Linked DNA regions of Homo sapiens: regions 1 and 2 are each linked to region 3. Evidence: promoter capture Hi-C in 16 types of primary human blood cells and fetal thymus (Javierre and others, 2016). All regions are on one chromosome and are shown on one strand. The core of a region is centred on a gene start or on the middle of the fragment in contact, and the rest is flanking DNA. Distances in the headings are between cores, read along the strand shown. Region 1 holds the start of TMBIM4 (transmembrane BAX inhibitor motif containing 4). Region 2 holds the start of LEMD3 (LEM domain containing 3). Region 3 holds the start of TBC1D15 (TBC1 domain family member 15).

The links. Contacts are between HindIII fragments. The CHiCAGO score rates a contact against its expected background, and 5 or more counts as called.
Region 1: the fragment with the promoter of TMBIM4 here is called in contact with the fragment with the promoter of TBC1D15 in region 3 in 3 of 17 cell types (total CD4 T cells, naive CD8 T cells and naive CD4 T cells); the score reaches 11.8 in total CD4 T cells.
Region 2: a contact is called between a fragment that was not itself captured here and the fragment with the promoter of TBC1D15 in region 3, in 2 of 17 cell types (naive CD8 T cells and total CD4 T cells). The highest score is 7.0, in naive CD8 T cells.

Annotation. Positions count from the first base shown.
Region 1 is chr12:66,168,372-66,172,304 of GRCh38, reverse strand. TMBIM4 (transmembrane BAX inhibitor motif containing 4) reads left to right here and starts at 2,309. Exons shown (of 7, transcript NM_016056.4): 1 at 2,309-2,450. The coding sequence starts at 2,354. RefSeq lists enhancers at 2,328-2,407, 2,051-2,575, 3,058-3,157. The HindIII fragment of the contact is 2,376 bases long and covers 634-3,009 here.
Region 2 is chr12:65,169,406-65,173,135 of GRCh38, reverse strand. It overlaps LEMD3 (LEM domain containing 3), which reads right to left and starts at 3,553. Exons shown (of 13, transcript NM_014319.5): 1 at 2,018-3,553. The coding sequence starts at 3,539. LOC124902953 (a long non-coding RNA gene) reads left to right here and starts at 3,720. Exons shown (of 2, transcript XR_007063349.1): 1 at 3,720-3,730. RefSeq lists enhancers at 2,396-2,475, 3,386-3,535, 3,218-3,730 and silencers at 2,469-2,672, 3,056-3,265. The HindIII fragment of the contact is 787 bases long and covers 981-1,767 here.
Region 3 is chr12:71,837,767-71,841,551 of GRCh38, reverse strand. TBC1D15 (TBC1 domain family member 15) reads right to left here and starts at 1,793. Exons shown (of 17, transcript NM_001146213.3): 1 at 1,741-1,793. The coding sequence starts at 1,770. The HindIII fragment of the contact is 6,842 bases long and covers 1-3,278 here.

The DNA of each region.
Region 1 (3,933 bases), core at 1,060-3,559, 5.7 Mb after region 3:
ACCCGCCTCAGCTTCCCAAAGTGCTGGGATTACAGGCATGAGCCACTGCGCCCGCCTCCAGTCTTTTGTCTATTTTTCTATTGACTGTCTTTTTTTGGTCTGGATTTGTAACAATTGTTTTTATATTCTGAAAAGGAGCCTTAGGTAGGTTATATGTATAGCAGATATCTTCCCCTACTCTATGGCTTCCTTTTCACTCTCTTATGGTATATTTTGATTACTAGAAATTCCTAATTTTAATATAATTTAATTTGGCAATCTTTTCATTTGAAGTTAAGTGCTATTTTGTATCTGGTTTCAGAAATCTTTGCCTTCCTCCAAATCATATTCTCCTGTATCATTTTCTTTAAGTTTTATTGTTTTTGCCTTTCACATTTATATCCACAATCTATCTGGAATTTATTTTTTTTTGTAACTGGTAAGAGGTAAAGGATCAAACTTTGCTGATGCTGTTTTTAGTCAATACAAAGGTGGGTTCCCAATTTAGCTCCAGTTTGTCCTCTATAATAAATTCCATTATTACGGCGGGGCAGAGAAAGAGGGGATGGCTTCGGGTTAGGATGGGAGAGAAAACGGATTACATTCCCAGTGTCATCTGAAGTAAAACTTTTCTCAGATTTTTCTCAGCAAGCTTTTTAAGTCCTCTCACCTGGAGAGTGACTAAAGAGATAGAGGCCATATCCCATTCACCTATCCATTCAACAAACTAAACTAAAACGAGGGGCCGGACACAGTGGCTAACGCCTGTGATCTCAGCACTTTGGGAGGTCGAGGTAGGGGGATCACTTGAGCCCAAGTTCGAGACCAGCATGGGCAACATGGCGAAATTCCGTCACTACAAAAAATACAAAAAATTACCCGGGGGTGGTCACCTGACCTCAGGAGGTCAAGGCTGCTGTGAGCCGAGATAGAGCCACCGCACTCCAGCCTGGGTGACAGACTGAGACTCTATCTCAAAACAAACCAACAAAAACAAATTAAAATGATATGCTTGTAAAATGTTTGTAAAATCATAAAAGATAAAGTGTTTTTTTGTTTTGTTTTGTTTTTCTTGTCATTGTGGAAGTGACGTTAGTTCTTTTGGCAAAGGCTTCTGAGAACATCAAGTTTAAGGATTTAGTTTAGAATAGACTGTTCCACAACTGTTCTGAATTCCACTTGCTAAGTGTTCGGGTGTTGTGGTTAAGGTGAGGACTGGGCAATGTGGGTAGATCAGAGTAAACTCATCAAAACAATTCCAAGGGACCCTAGGATGACACTACTCTGGGTATGTCTACACCTCTTTATATTGGAATGACAACAATATCATGAATATTCACTCTAATCCATTGTATTTGCCACCATCATCTCTCTCTTACAGTAATACAACTTTATCCCCTTTTCTCTGCCTTTGGTAATGGCCCTCTTCAATGTATTCTACTTCTGGCCTAGGATGATCTGGCCTTTGTTTATCTATCCAGCCTCATTCTTTGCCACCTGTCCCCTACACCAGCTGAGCTTCACCGTCTCCCTCTTTGCAGACGTTGGTCCCTTGAGGCCCAGCCTACATCACTGCTCTTTCTCTGGTTGGCTCCTACTTGCCTTTCAGGATTAAATATTACTTCATTCAGAAAGCCTGGTTTATAGAAAGTGCTCAATAAATGTAGGTATTATTATTATTTTAAAATAATAGAAGTAAAAATGCATCCTCGGTGTGATTATTGAAAAAGTGGATGAATGAGATGGGTATTTGTTGAGTGGATGGGTGACTGGGACATGGGTTCTATCACTTTAGCAACTCTCCAAGGTGAAAGGACTTAAAGTGTGTTCAGGCTGGGCGCGGTGGCTCACGCCTGTAATCTCAGCACTTTGGGAGGCCGAGGCGGGCGGATCACGAGGTCAGCAGATCGAGACCATCCTGGCTAACATGGTGAAACCTCGTCTCTGCTAAAAATATAAAAAAATTAGCCTGGCGTGGTGGCAGGCGCCTGTAATCTCAGCTATTCGGGAGGCTGAGGCAGGAGAACCGCTTGAACCCGGGAGGCGGAGGTTGCGGTGAGCCGAGATCGTGCCATTGCACTCCAGCCTGGGCAACAAGAGTGAAACTCCATCTCAAAAAAAAAAAAAAAAGTGTGTTGAGAAAAGTTTCACTTCAGATGACGCCGGGAATGTAAACCGTTTTCTCTTCCATTCTAACTCGGAGCCATCCCCGCTTTCTCCGCCCAGCTGGAATTTTTGAAGCGAGAAAATCGACTCGCTCGGTGTTCGCCCGCCGACGCCGCACGGCTTGCTGGGGCTGGGCTCTTCCTCGCGGAAGTGGGGAGGAGGCGGTTGCGGTTAGTGGACCGGGACCGGTAGGGGTGCTGTTGCCATCATGGCTGACCCCGACCCCCGGTACCCTCGCTCCTCGATCGAGGACGACTTCAACTATGGCAGCAGCGTGGCCTCCGCCACCGTGCACATCCGAATGGGTACGTTGTCCCCTCTCCAGTGCCTCCCAGCCGCTTGTCTGCACTGCTCGGCCTCTAGAAGCCGACTTCCGGCTTCCGAGGGAGAGCGGCCATCTCCTGGGACTCACAGGGAGTGCTCACTGAGCTCCCGGCCCTCCTTCTCCGGGTACCAGAGGACTGGCGCCCTCCTCAGGGAGTCGGGGAGGCGCTTCCTCCCCTCCTAGCGGGTGTGGGAGGGCGCCAGGCCCAGAAGGCTTGCGGCTGTCCTGTGTGCGCCCCGGCTCCCCAGCGGGCGCCGCGGTGTAGGAAGGGACAGATGGAAACCGCCGCAGCCTGAATTTGGCATCTTGAAGTGAAAAGAAACGTCGTGGAAATGAGTCGGTTGATCACTGTGACTGACGTACACACGAGTGGAATCCACGGCCTGATGTTTTTGTTCTGTGGGGTTTCGCGTTACAGGCTTATATTTACCGTCCTGTGCTAGGCTGGAAGCTCCCTGACGGCACTATTTCCTCTCCGCAGGGCCCAGAATGCAACAGGTCTTTGAGGATTATTGAGGAAGTTGCTCAACACAGAAGCTTCCTAAGTCAGTCTAAATTGTGTTTTAAGTTATTACGTAGTAGCCAATGGGCAGAAATTTTTGAATTTAAAATGCTCAGCTTCATCTACGTGGAAGCCATTGCCTGCTCTAGTTTGGTCATTTGATCGCCGAAACAGCCCCAGACTTTCAGCCTGTTTAGGCAGCTGGAACTTGTTCTGGAAAAGGAAAGATGAAGATAGTTCTGATGTGCTAAGAATCTTAGTGCCTAGAACTTGTTCTGGAAAAGGAAAGATGAAGATAGTTCTGATGCACCAAGAATCTTGGTGCCTAGCATTTATATTTTTGGAATTGAATTTTGAAATTATTTTGGCCAGTGAACTCAGCTTTTTTTTAAAAAAAATTAATTGTGGTAAAATACAGGTAACATAAAATTTACCGTCTTAACTATTTTTAAGTGTATAGTTCAGTAGTGTTAAGTTATTCACATGGTTGTGCACTGTTAAAAGAAAAACTTTAGACACATTAAATCTAACGGAGTTTGAGCACAGAATGATTTGCGAATTGGGCAGGTCCCGGAACCAGAATAAGGTTCAGAGTGATGAGTCCTGCCGCTTGGTGGGAGAAAATTTATGGAGAGAGAAAGTAAAGTGAGGTACAGAAAATAGAAGTGAGGTACAGAAAGAGTTGATTGGTTACAGCTTGGTTTTTGCCCGTTTGAACATGGTTTGAACACGTGGCCATCTTTGGCTGAAACTCAGTGATTGGTTCAAGCGTAGGTTACAGCCTGTTTACTAGGTTATAGTTCACTATATACCGAGAACCCCTAGGCTGAACTTAAAATATCTAAAGGCATAGCTTTAGACTAAACTTATATACCATCCAATATCCAGAACTTTTTAATCTTGCAAAACTGAAACTCTATACCTATTAACTCCCCATTCCTTCCTTCCCCCAGTCCCTGGA
Region 2 (3,730 bases), core at 125-2,624, 6.7 Mb after region 3:
TGGTCTTTCTAGTTGGAAATAAAATCTGAAACCAAATCTTAGCCCTACTACTAACTGTTCAACACTCAGTGCATTTCTTAACTTAGTATCATCCTCATCCAAAAATGAGGATACCACCACCTGCTTCTGTGAGTTGCTGGGAAGATTAGATGGTACAATAGGTGTAAAGCAATTAGCTCTTAGAAAATGGCCAGATCTGCTAACATGGTGAAACCCTGTCTCTACTAAAAATACAAAAAAAATTTAGCCAGGTGTGGCGGCACGCGCATGTAGTCCCAGCTACTTGGGAGGCTGAGGCAGGAGAATCACTTGAACCCAGGAGGCGGAGGTTGCAGTGACCAGAGATTGTGCCACTGCACTCCAGCCTAGCGACAGAGCTAGACTCTGTCTAAAAAAAAAAAAAAAGAAAAGAAAAAGGCCAGATCTTATAGTTGTTAGAGACACAGATGCAGATAGCTACTGCTGATAGGTAATGTCATTTAATTTATGTGAACTTTTACTTGTTTAACTTCTAGTGTGCCCTTATTTTTTTTCTCCCAAATATTTGGGGCAGGACACAATACACTCATGCTCCCAGGGAATAAACTAAAGTGAGAGCTGAATTTCATTCTTGTTTCAACCCCTGTAATTAAGCAACAGAGTAAAAATCTATTATTTGACTGTCTCGGAATTGGCTATATCTAAATCTAAGCTTACATTATTTTGACTCCTACTCTTTATCTGAGTTGGCTAACTGCATCTTTCACTCTATTTTGAAATAAAACTAATAAGCCAATTTTATAAATACAAATAAAAATACAGTGAATTCATCTTGGGTGAAAAGAGTAGGAAGCCTTCAGGGAGAATGCAGAGAGGGACCTAACACTGAGAAATTATGTATTCAGAAGTCCATTTTGTCCTAATTTACTTTCTCTTTTAATCTTCACAAACATTCTAGTCAATAGAGGCCTCATCTTATAGATTAGGAAAGTTCAGAAGCTTTAACTCTGACTCTCTCCCCTTTGCTCAAGGTGCTTAACCACTCTAACCTACAAGAAGGCTCTTGCTCAACTCAAGGCCTTAATCTCTGCTCAGAATGGTCTACTGTTTCTCCACAAGGCTGTCTCCTTCTGCTTCAGGTCTCACCTCAAATAGTACCTCCTCCGTTCAATCTAAAGTAGTGTACACCTACGTCAGTGTAGTCTGGTAAATTTTTTTAAAAAAGGAAAAAAAATAAAGTTGTGTACGCCAATTACTCATCTTTATTTCCTTCAGAGAACACAAAATGGTCTGTATTCATCTTCTTTTTGTGTTTAAGGGCAGAGATACTTTGATTATGACAATGAACACACCTGCCTACAGTCATTTAGCAAGTAAATAGTAGGACCTGGAAACCAATCCAAGGAAATCTGACTGCAAGCTCCTGCACTGCCCTACCACTACTTTTTGTACAGATGATAGGGAAAGTGCTTTGGGCTGGGAAATAAATTAAGAGGTGTGCCTTGCTGCTTTTTTATATTCATTCACTATAAAGAAATTATACATACAGTTAATACCACAAAATATTTAATCCGAATTTATGCATACAGTTAATATTATAAAATAATTCGAATTTCAAGAGCTATTACATTGCCTATTAGAATCACAACTCAATTTGGAAAAACACTACATTTATAATGTGCCTTATCCTAATACTTCAAATTTGTTAAGTAACTGGCATCTGCGCAAATAGTCTTTCAGGGCTAAAAGAGAATTGTCACATATACAAATGAGTTTTACTAACAAGCTTATAATATTCTTTTAAAAATTGTTTTGAATTTCACAATACATCATGCAGAAAACTTTTAAAACCAGCCATATGACATCATTTCGATAATGGTGTTCTTTAAGAAAGATGACACATGCACGCACTGTTGCGTTTTTGCTGTTAAACCATATTCTTGCAGGTAAGTCACTTCATGTAAAACGCTAAGCGCGGCTAAAGCGGACCACTAACAACATTCTCTTTGTTACCTTACCCACAGGATTTAATACTTACTGCTGAGTTCTCCATCCTCAGATACTCCTGTCCCTCTCATTCCTAGGTAAGTCAGTCCCAGTATTAGGAAAAATAAGCAGGCAGCAGTTAAGAGAAACATCGACAAGTAGTGGGCACTGAAACTCCCTGTTGGGGACACCTCCTCCCGTTTAAATTGCTGGAGAAGTTCCTCTTCGGGTTCGGAAAGCTTCGGTTTGTTGTATGTGTTTTTCAGGTAGGTATGATTGGAGCCCGTATGATTGGCGTGATTGATCCTGAGTGAACTAGAGGCGGCCACCGCCGCACTGGGAGGGAGACTGTTAGAATAAATCCTGGGGGAGTCCACACTGAAGGCCCCACCGCCAATATGATTATTGGTTTTCAGAAGGGAGCCTGTTGACGAATCCAAGGTTGAGTCCATGTCAGTAAGTGGCGGGGGCAGGAGAGGGGTCAGTTTCTTAGCGTTAACACGGTATCTAGGAACGGGGCTGGAGTCCACTTGATCACACCCTCCTCCCTGCTCCGCGGCCGCCGCCTCTTCGAGGTTTCGGCTCCTGTCTAGACTCCCGGCAGCCGCCGCCCTGTCATTCATCGCGAGTCCTCCCCCTCCCTGAACTGAAGTCTCCAGCCTGCCGCCGGCCGATTTAGCAGTCAGCGGGGGGAGAGGCTTACTATGGGTTCGTCTGGGCCGATGCCGGGAAAGGGAGTCGTCCTTTAATACCTGTCTGCTGGAGGCCACGTCGTCGTCGTCCTCTTCCTCTGAGTCCGAATAGTTTTCCCGGCAGCTGTAGGGGACAAGCCGGCTGCCATTCACGGTCCGGCTCGCCCAGAGCGGCTCCTCGGTCTCCGGGTCCCTCTCCTCACCGTCCTCTCCCTCCCCTTCCTCGTCCTCCACTGCTCCATCTTTCCCCGGCGGGGTCTGCAGCTCGGGGCCCGCCGGCCTCCTGGCCCCCCACCACGAGTGGGGCTTCCTTCGCTCTGCAGAGTTGCTGTTAGTCACCTCGCTGGCGGCCAGGGGCGCCGGCGGCGCTTTGAGCCCGCGGTACTGGAGCGAAGCCCGGTCTTTCCTCCCGCCGCCGCCGGCCTGGTCCCGGGGACTGGCCTCCACGTCCGACTCGTCCGAGCTGAAGCCCAGCAGCACTTTGCTGCCAGCCGCGGGGGCGGCGGAGGCGCCCCCGGGCCCTCCCAGGAGGCTCTCTGGGCCAGAGGCCGAGATTCGGCACAGGCCCCCAGGAGTCCGTAAGTAGGAGAGGTCGCCCGAGACCGGCCGGACCCCCATCCCCGCGGCCGCCGCCGCCGCTGGTCCCGCGGCTGCGACCGTGGCGGCTGCCGTGTTATTGTTATTACTGTTCCGCGTCTTGTTGCCGCGGCCCCCTGACCGGTGCTGTTGCTGCTCTTCCTCTCGAAGCTTCTTCAGCTTCTTGAGGTAGACCGGGCGGGTGCTCTCCGTCACTGGTCCGGGAGACAGGCCGTAACGGCGGAGCTGAGAGAAAAGCTCCTCATCCGAGAGCTGCTGAGGCGCCGAAGCTGCTGCCGCCGCCATTTTCTCTCCAGGGTGTTTTACAAGCTCCGCGCTACCGGAAGTGACGCGCCGCCCTAGACCCTGAACTAGACCGCGCTGCGTCGCCCTCCCAGCGCCGCGGGCATCTCGGCCAATGGGAGGCGCGGGAGGAGCTCACCTGAGCGGGAAAGAGCCACCTGAGCAGCGCGCGGCTCCCACGGCGGAGACTGTTT
Region 3 (3,785 bases), core at 544-3,043:
GCAACCAGGTGAAAGATGATGCCATTAAACCAGATCTGAACTTACTGAGAGAAGAACAAGTGGGTTTTGTTGGTCATGATAGTATTACTTGGGAGAGGAGCAGCTTTTGGCATGGAAAACTAGTTTCAGTGGAGTGATGGCAATAGATGTGAATTTGCAGTGAATGAGAATAAATGAGGTTATGAAGCAGAATTACTAAATATAAGTCTCACTTTAAGAAGTCAGACTATGAAAGGTAGTGGCTGCAAAGAGTGAAAAATGTTTTTCATTTCACAACTCTGCTTCATTGCCTCAAGGATTCTTTCAAAATCAATCCAAACCTGAAAGAGGGAGATGTTTAAACGGAAGGGATCCCCTCTTGAAAAGTCCCAGCCTGGATCAGTTTAGATGGAAAATCAAACAGGATAATCTTCAAATACGCAGTAAGTCAAGCAGTATATCAGCATCCACCCTGAATATAAAAAGAAAAAAACTGACAAGACAACCAAGGAGCACGAATAATCCAAAAAAGGATGCCCACCTATCCTTTAAAAGAGCCAGTAGGTACAAGTGTGTAATTTTATGTTTTTTTAAAAAAAAATTTATATAACCCTAACAACTCCAATACAAGAAATAATGATTGGCATCTCCTCCATTCTACAGATAAAGAACGCGAAAAGACAAAAGTCACAATTGCCCAATTTTCCAAGGTCATACTTCAGATTAACAGCAAAACCAAGCCCATATTTGTCATTCAGCCGCCTAGTCTAATACTCCAAACACCAAACCACAAACGCTGTCAAATAATTCAAAATGGGGTAGGGAAAGCAACAGGGAGACATGAGTGAAACTCAAGGAACAGAGGACGCTATCTGCAATGAGTAAACAACCATTAGTGTTCGATGAGTCACTTCAGTTGATTCCAGCTGTTTATGAAATACTCCTGCACTGGGAAATACTATCGGTGGCATATCATAAAGCTGATAGCCCTAACTATGCATAAGATGTGCCCTCGGAACGCGAATAGGCACTATTCGACGAAATCTCCGCACGTAATTCTAGTTTCCAACGAAATTAGGCGTGTCACTGACCACCTCCGTAAACCAGCATGACCAATACTCCTACTGAAATGCCTAGGAAATAAATATTTGGACGCCTTCCTAGACAAGCACAGGATGGTGTAAATCTCCATTTCTCTCAGGAAACACGTCCTGCTGCTCACAACCACCAACCAACTCAGCAGCTTGGTAAAAACAGACCCAATACACTCGTTTCTTCTAAGCGCACAGCTAGCTGCCTAGCATCTATTCAGCTCCTCCCGAAGGAAGCATAAACATCTTCACCAAACTGTAGCAAAGAAGACAGAGGCAAGTCGGGTTAACGCTTCAAAGAGAGAAAAGACGCTGGAGTCAGAAGAGTAGACATAAAGAACTAGAGTCAAGAAACAGTGAATCGGGGGAAAAAAGGAACTAGAGAGCCACCTGTCCCTTAGTAAAGGTAATACGAATAAAAGCCTCTCTGCTCTGGGGCAGAAGAGCGCCGAGGCCTAGCTGGCCTTGGAGCAGTAGCCGGCTCTATAACTCCGCGGCTGAACTGGCATTCTCGGGAAACCAGCTGGTACCACCCAGTCTTCTCCTACAGACGCCACGGGTTGTCCGGACACAGAAAGTCCCTCGTGTCCCTCCCCCAACCAGCTGCCAGGGAGCAAAAGCATCCCCGTCCCAGAGAAAAGCCGAGGTCTTCCTGGAGGCCGTTACCTACCTTCCCGCTCACAACACCCGCCGCCGCCATGTTTCCTGCGCGTGCCTGGTAATGACGTAGCAGAACCTCACGTGTCTCTCGGACATACAACAACATCCGGCAAAACTAGAATAACATCCGGGCGGGAAAAGGGCGGGGAGTGGCGGGAAGGGAGTGGAGGAAAGGAGCCGGGCGGAAAAAAGCCGCCTGACGCGTGCGTGCTGAACTGGGCTCAGAGACGGCTGGGGTGGAGTCTCAGGCCTAACGCTACGCTTGTGCTTGCCCCACGTCCTCCCCAAGGAAGACTGCTAAAATAATGTGTACCTTACTTGTATTGGAGTTTGTCGAGACTCTGAAGCTAGCGCAGGCCACGCCAGTTTGGTGAGATGAAACGAATACCATACTGGAAGCCAGCAAGATTTGTCCTGGTTTTTTGTTGTTGTTGTAGAAAAGGAGTCTCGCTCTGTCGCTCAGGCTGGAGTGCAGTGGCGCGATCTCGGCTCATTGCAGCCTCCGCCACTCGGTTCAAGCGATTCTCAAGCCTCAGCCTCCCGGGTAGCTGGGATTACAGGCGCGCGTCAAACGCCCAGCTAATTTTTAAATTTTTATTAGAGACGAGATTTCGCCAATGTTGCCCAGGCTGGTCTCGAACTCCTGACTTCAGGTGATCCGTCCGCTTCAGCCTTTGCCCAGAGAGCTGGGATTACAGGCTTGAGCCACCGCGCCCAGCCCATTAGCCTGGTTTTGTGGCAGTAGGCAAATCACCAGTGCACTCGAAACCTCAGTTTCTTATAGTAAAATCAAGATAGTGGCGTTGCGGTGAAGATCCAAGAAAGAGCAGCACTAACATGGAGATATCCCAGGCACTATACATGGAGACTTTTCCCCTCTGTATATGAGGTTTCTCTATTTGTCTGGTCACTGCCACTCACACATGACCTCCAGCAAGGTATTTCGATAGGAACTGTGATAATACCACGCCCTCATAGCTGCAGAGCCCAAGGCACATAGTTTATAGCACCTACACATTACTTATTAGCTCTGTGACTTAAAGCAGGTTTCTAAATTTATCAGAGCTTCAGGATGTAAACTGGGAATTACTCCTGCATGGAGTGGTTGTAGGGATTTCATACGACAATACATGTGTGGTAAAATGATTTGTAAAGATACTAAGGTAAGAATTTTACTTGTTCTCAGTGCTGTAAAAGAATGCAGAGAATGATTATATACTACCCCCTTGATAACTCTGGCACAGATCTGGGATTTCCCTAGCTCCGGGGCAGAATAAAAAGTCCCTTTCACCAAAAACACTTGTGTCCATTGAGGTACTTCCGTCTTCACACAGTGGAGAGGGGTTAGAGGCTTTTGAGTTTGGTTGAGGTAGGTGGCAACTAGCTGAACGACAGAAAAGGAGAGTTGCCGGTTATGTGACTACCAGGAACCTAATAGGTGAGGAAAGTGGTGGAACCTTAGGTGGGAATGAATGCGTAGCATATTAGGGAGATTGCGTGCTAGGTATCTGAGATTCCAACCATGACCAAGACCCTTATGCCCAAGCTTGGCAGGGAATCAAGAAAGCAGCTCACCTACAAGGGATGAATGAGGTGGGAAAATGAGAATATTAGCAGTAATCAGCATTGAGTGAAGACTAGAGGGCCTTTTCCAAATGTACTGGACTGAGACTAAGACCCCTAGAACCTTCATATAATCTTGGGTGTGGAGTGGAAAATCCTACTGATGACCCAAATTACATTTTCCACCAGCTCAGAGCATTGGGATGTGGTTAGAGAAAAATTTTAATGTGACATCACATTTCTTACACCCTGTGTTTTAGAGAAAATTTGAAGCCCTTAGCACAGTGCCAGGAATAAAAGGCTCAATAAATGTAGTTATTACTTATATTTTAAAATATAAGTTTGAGAACTACAGGCTTCTCATTGAAAAGCATCATTGGCATCTCAGGTTCATCTGCTACTTCTTGACCTTCTTAAATTTCATCCTACAAGTGTGCCTTAAATAATGGCGCTACCCATGGGCTGGCCTTGGGCCTCTCTTCCTTTTTCTCC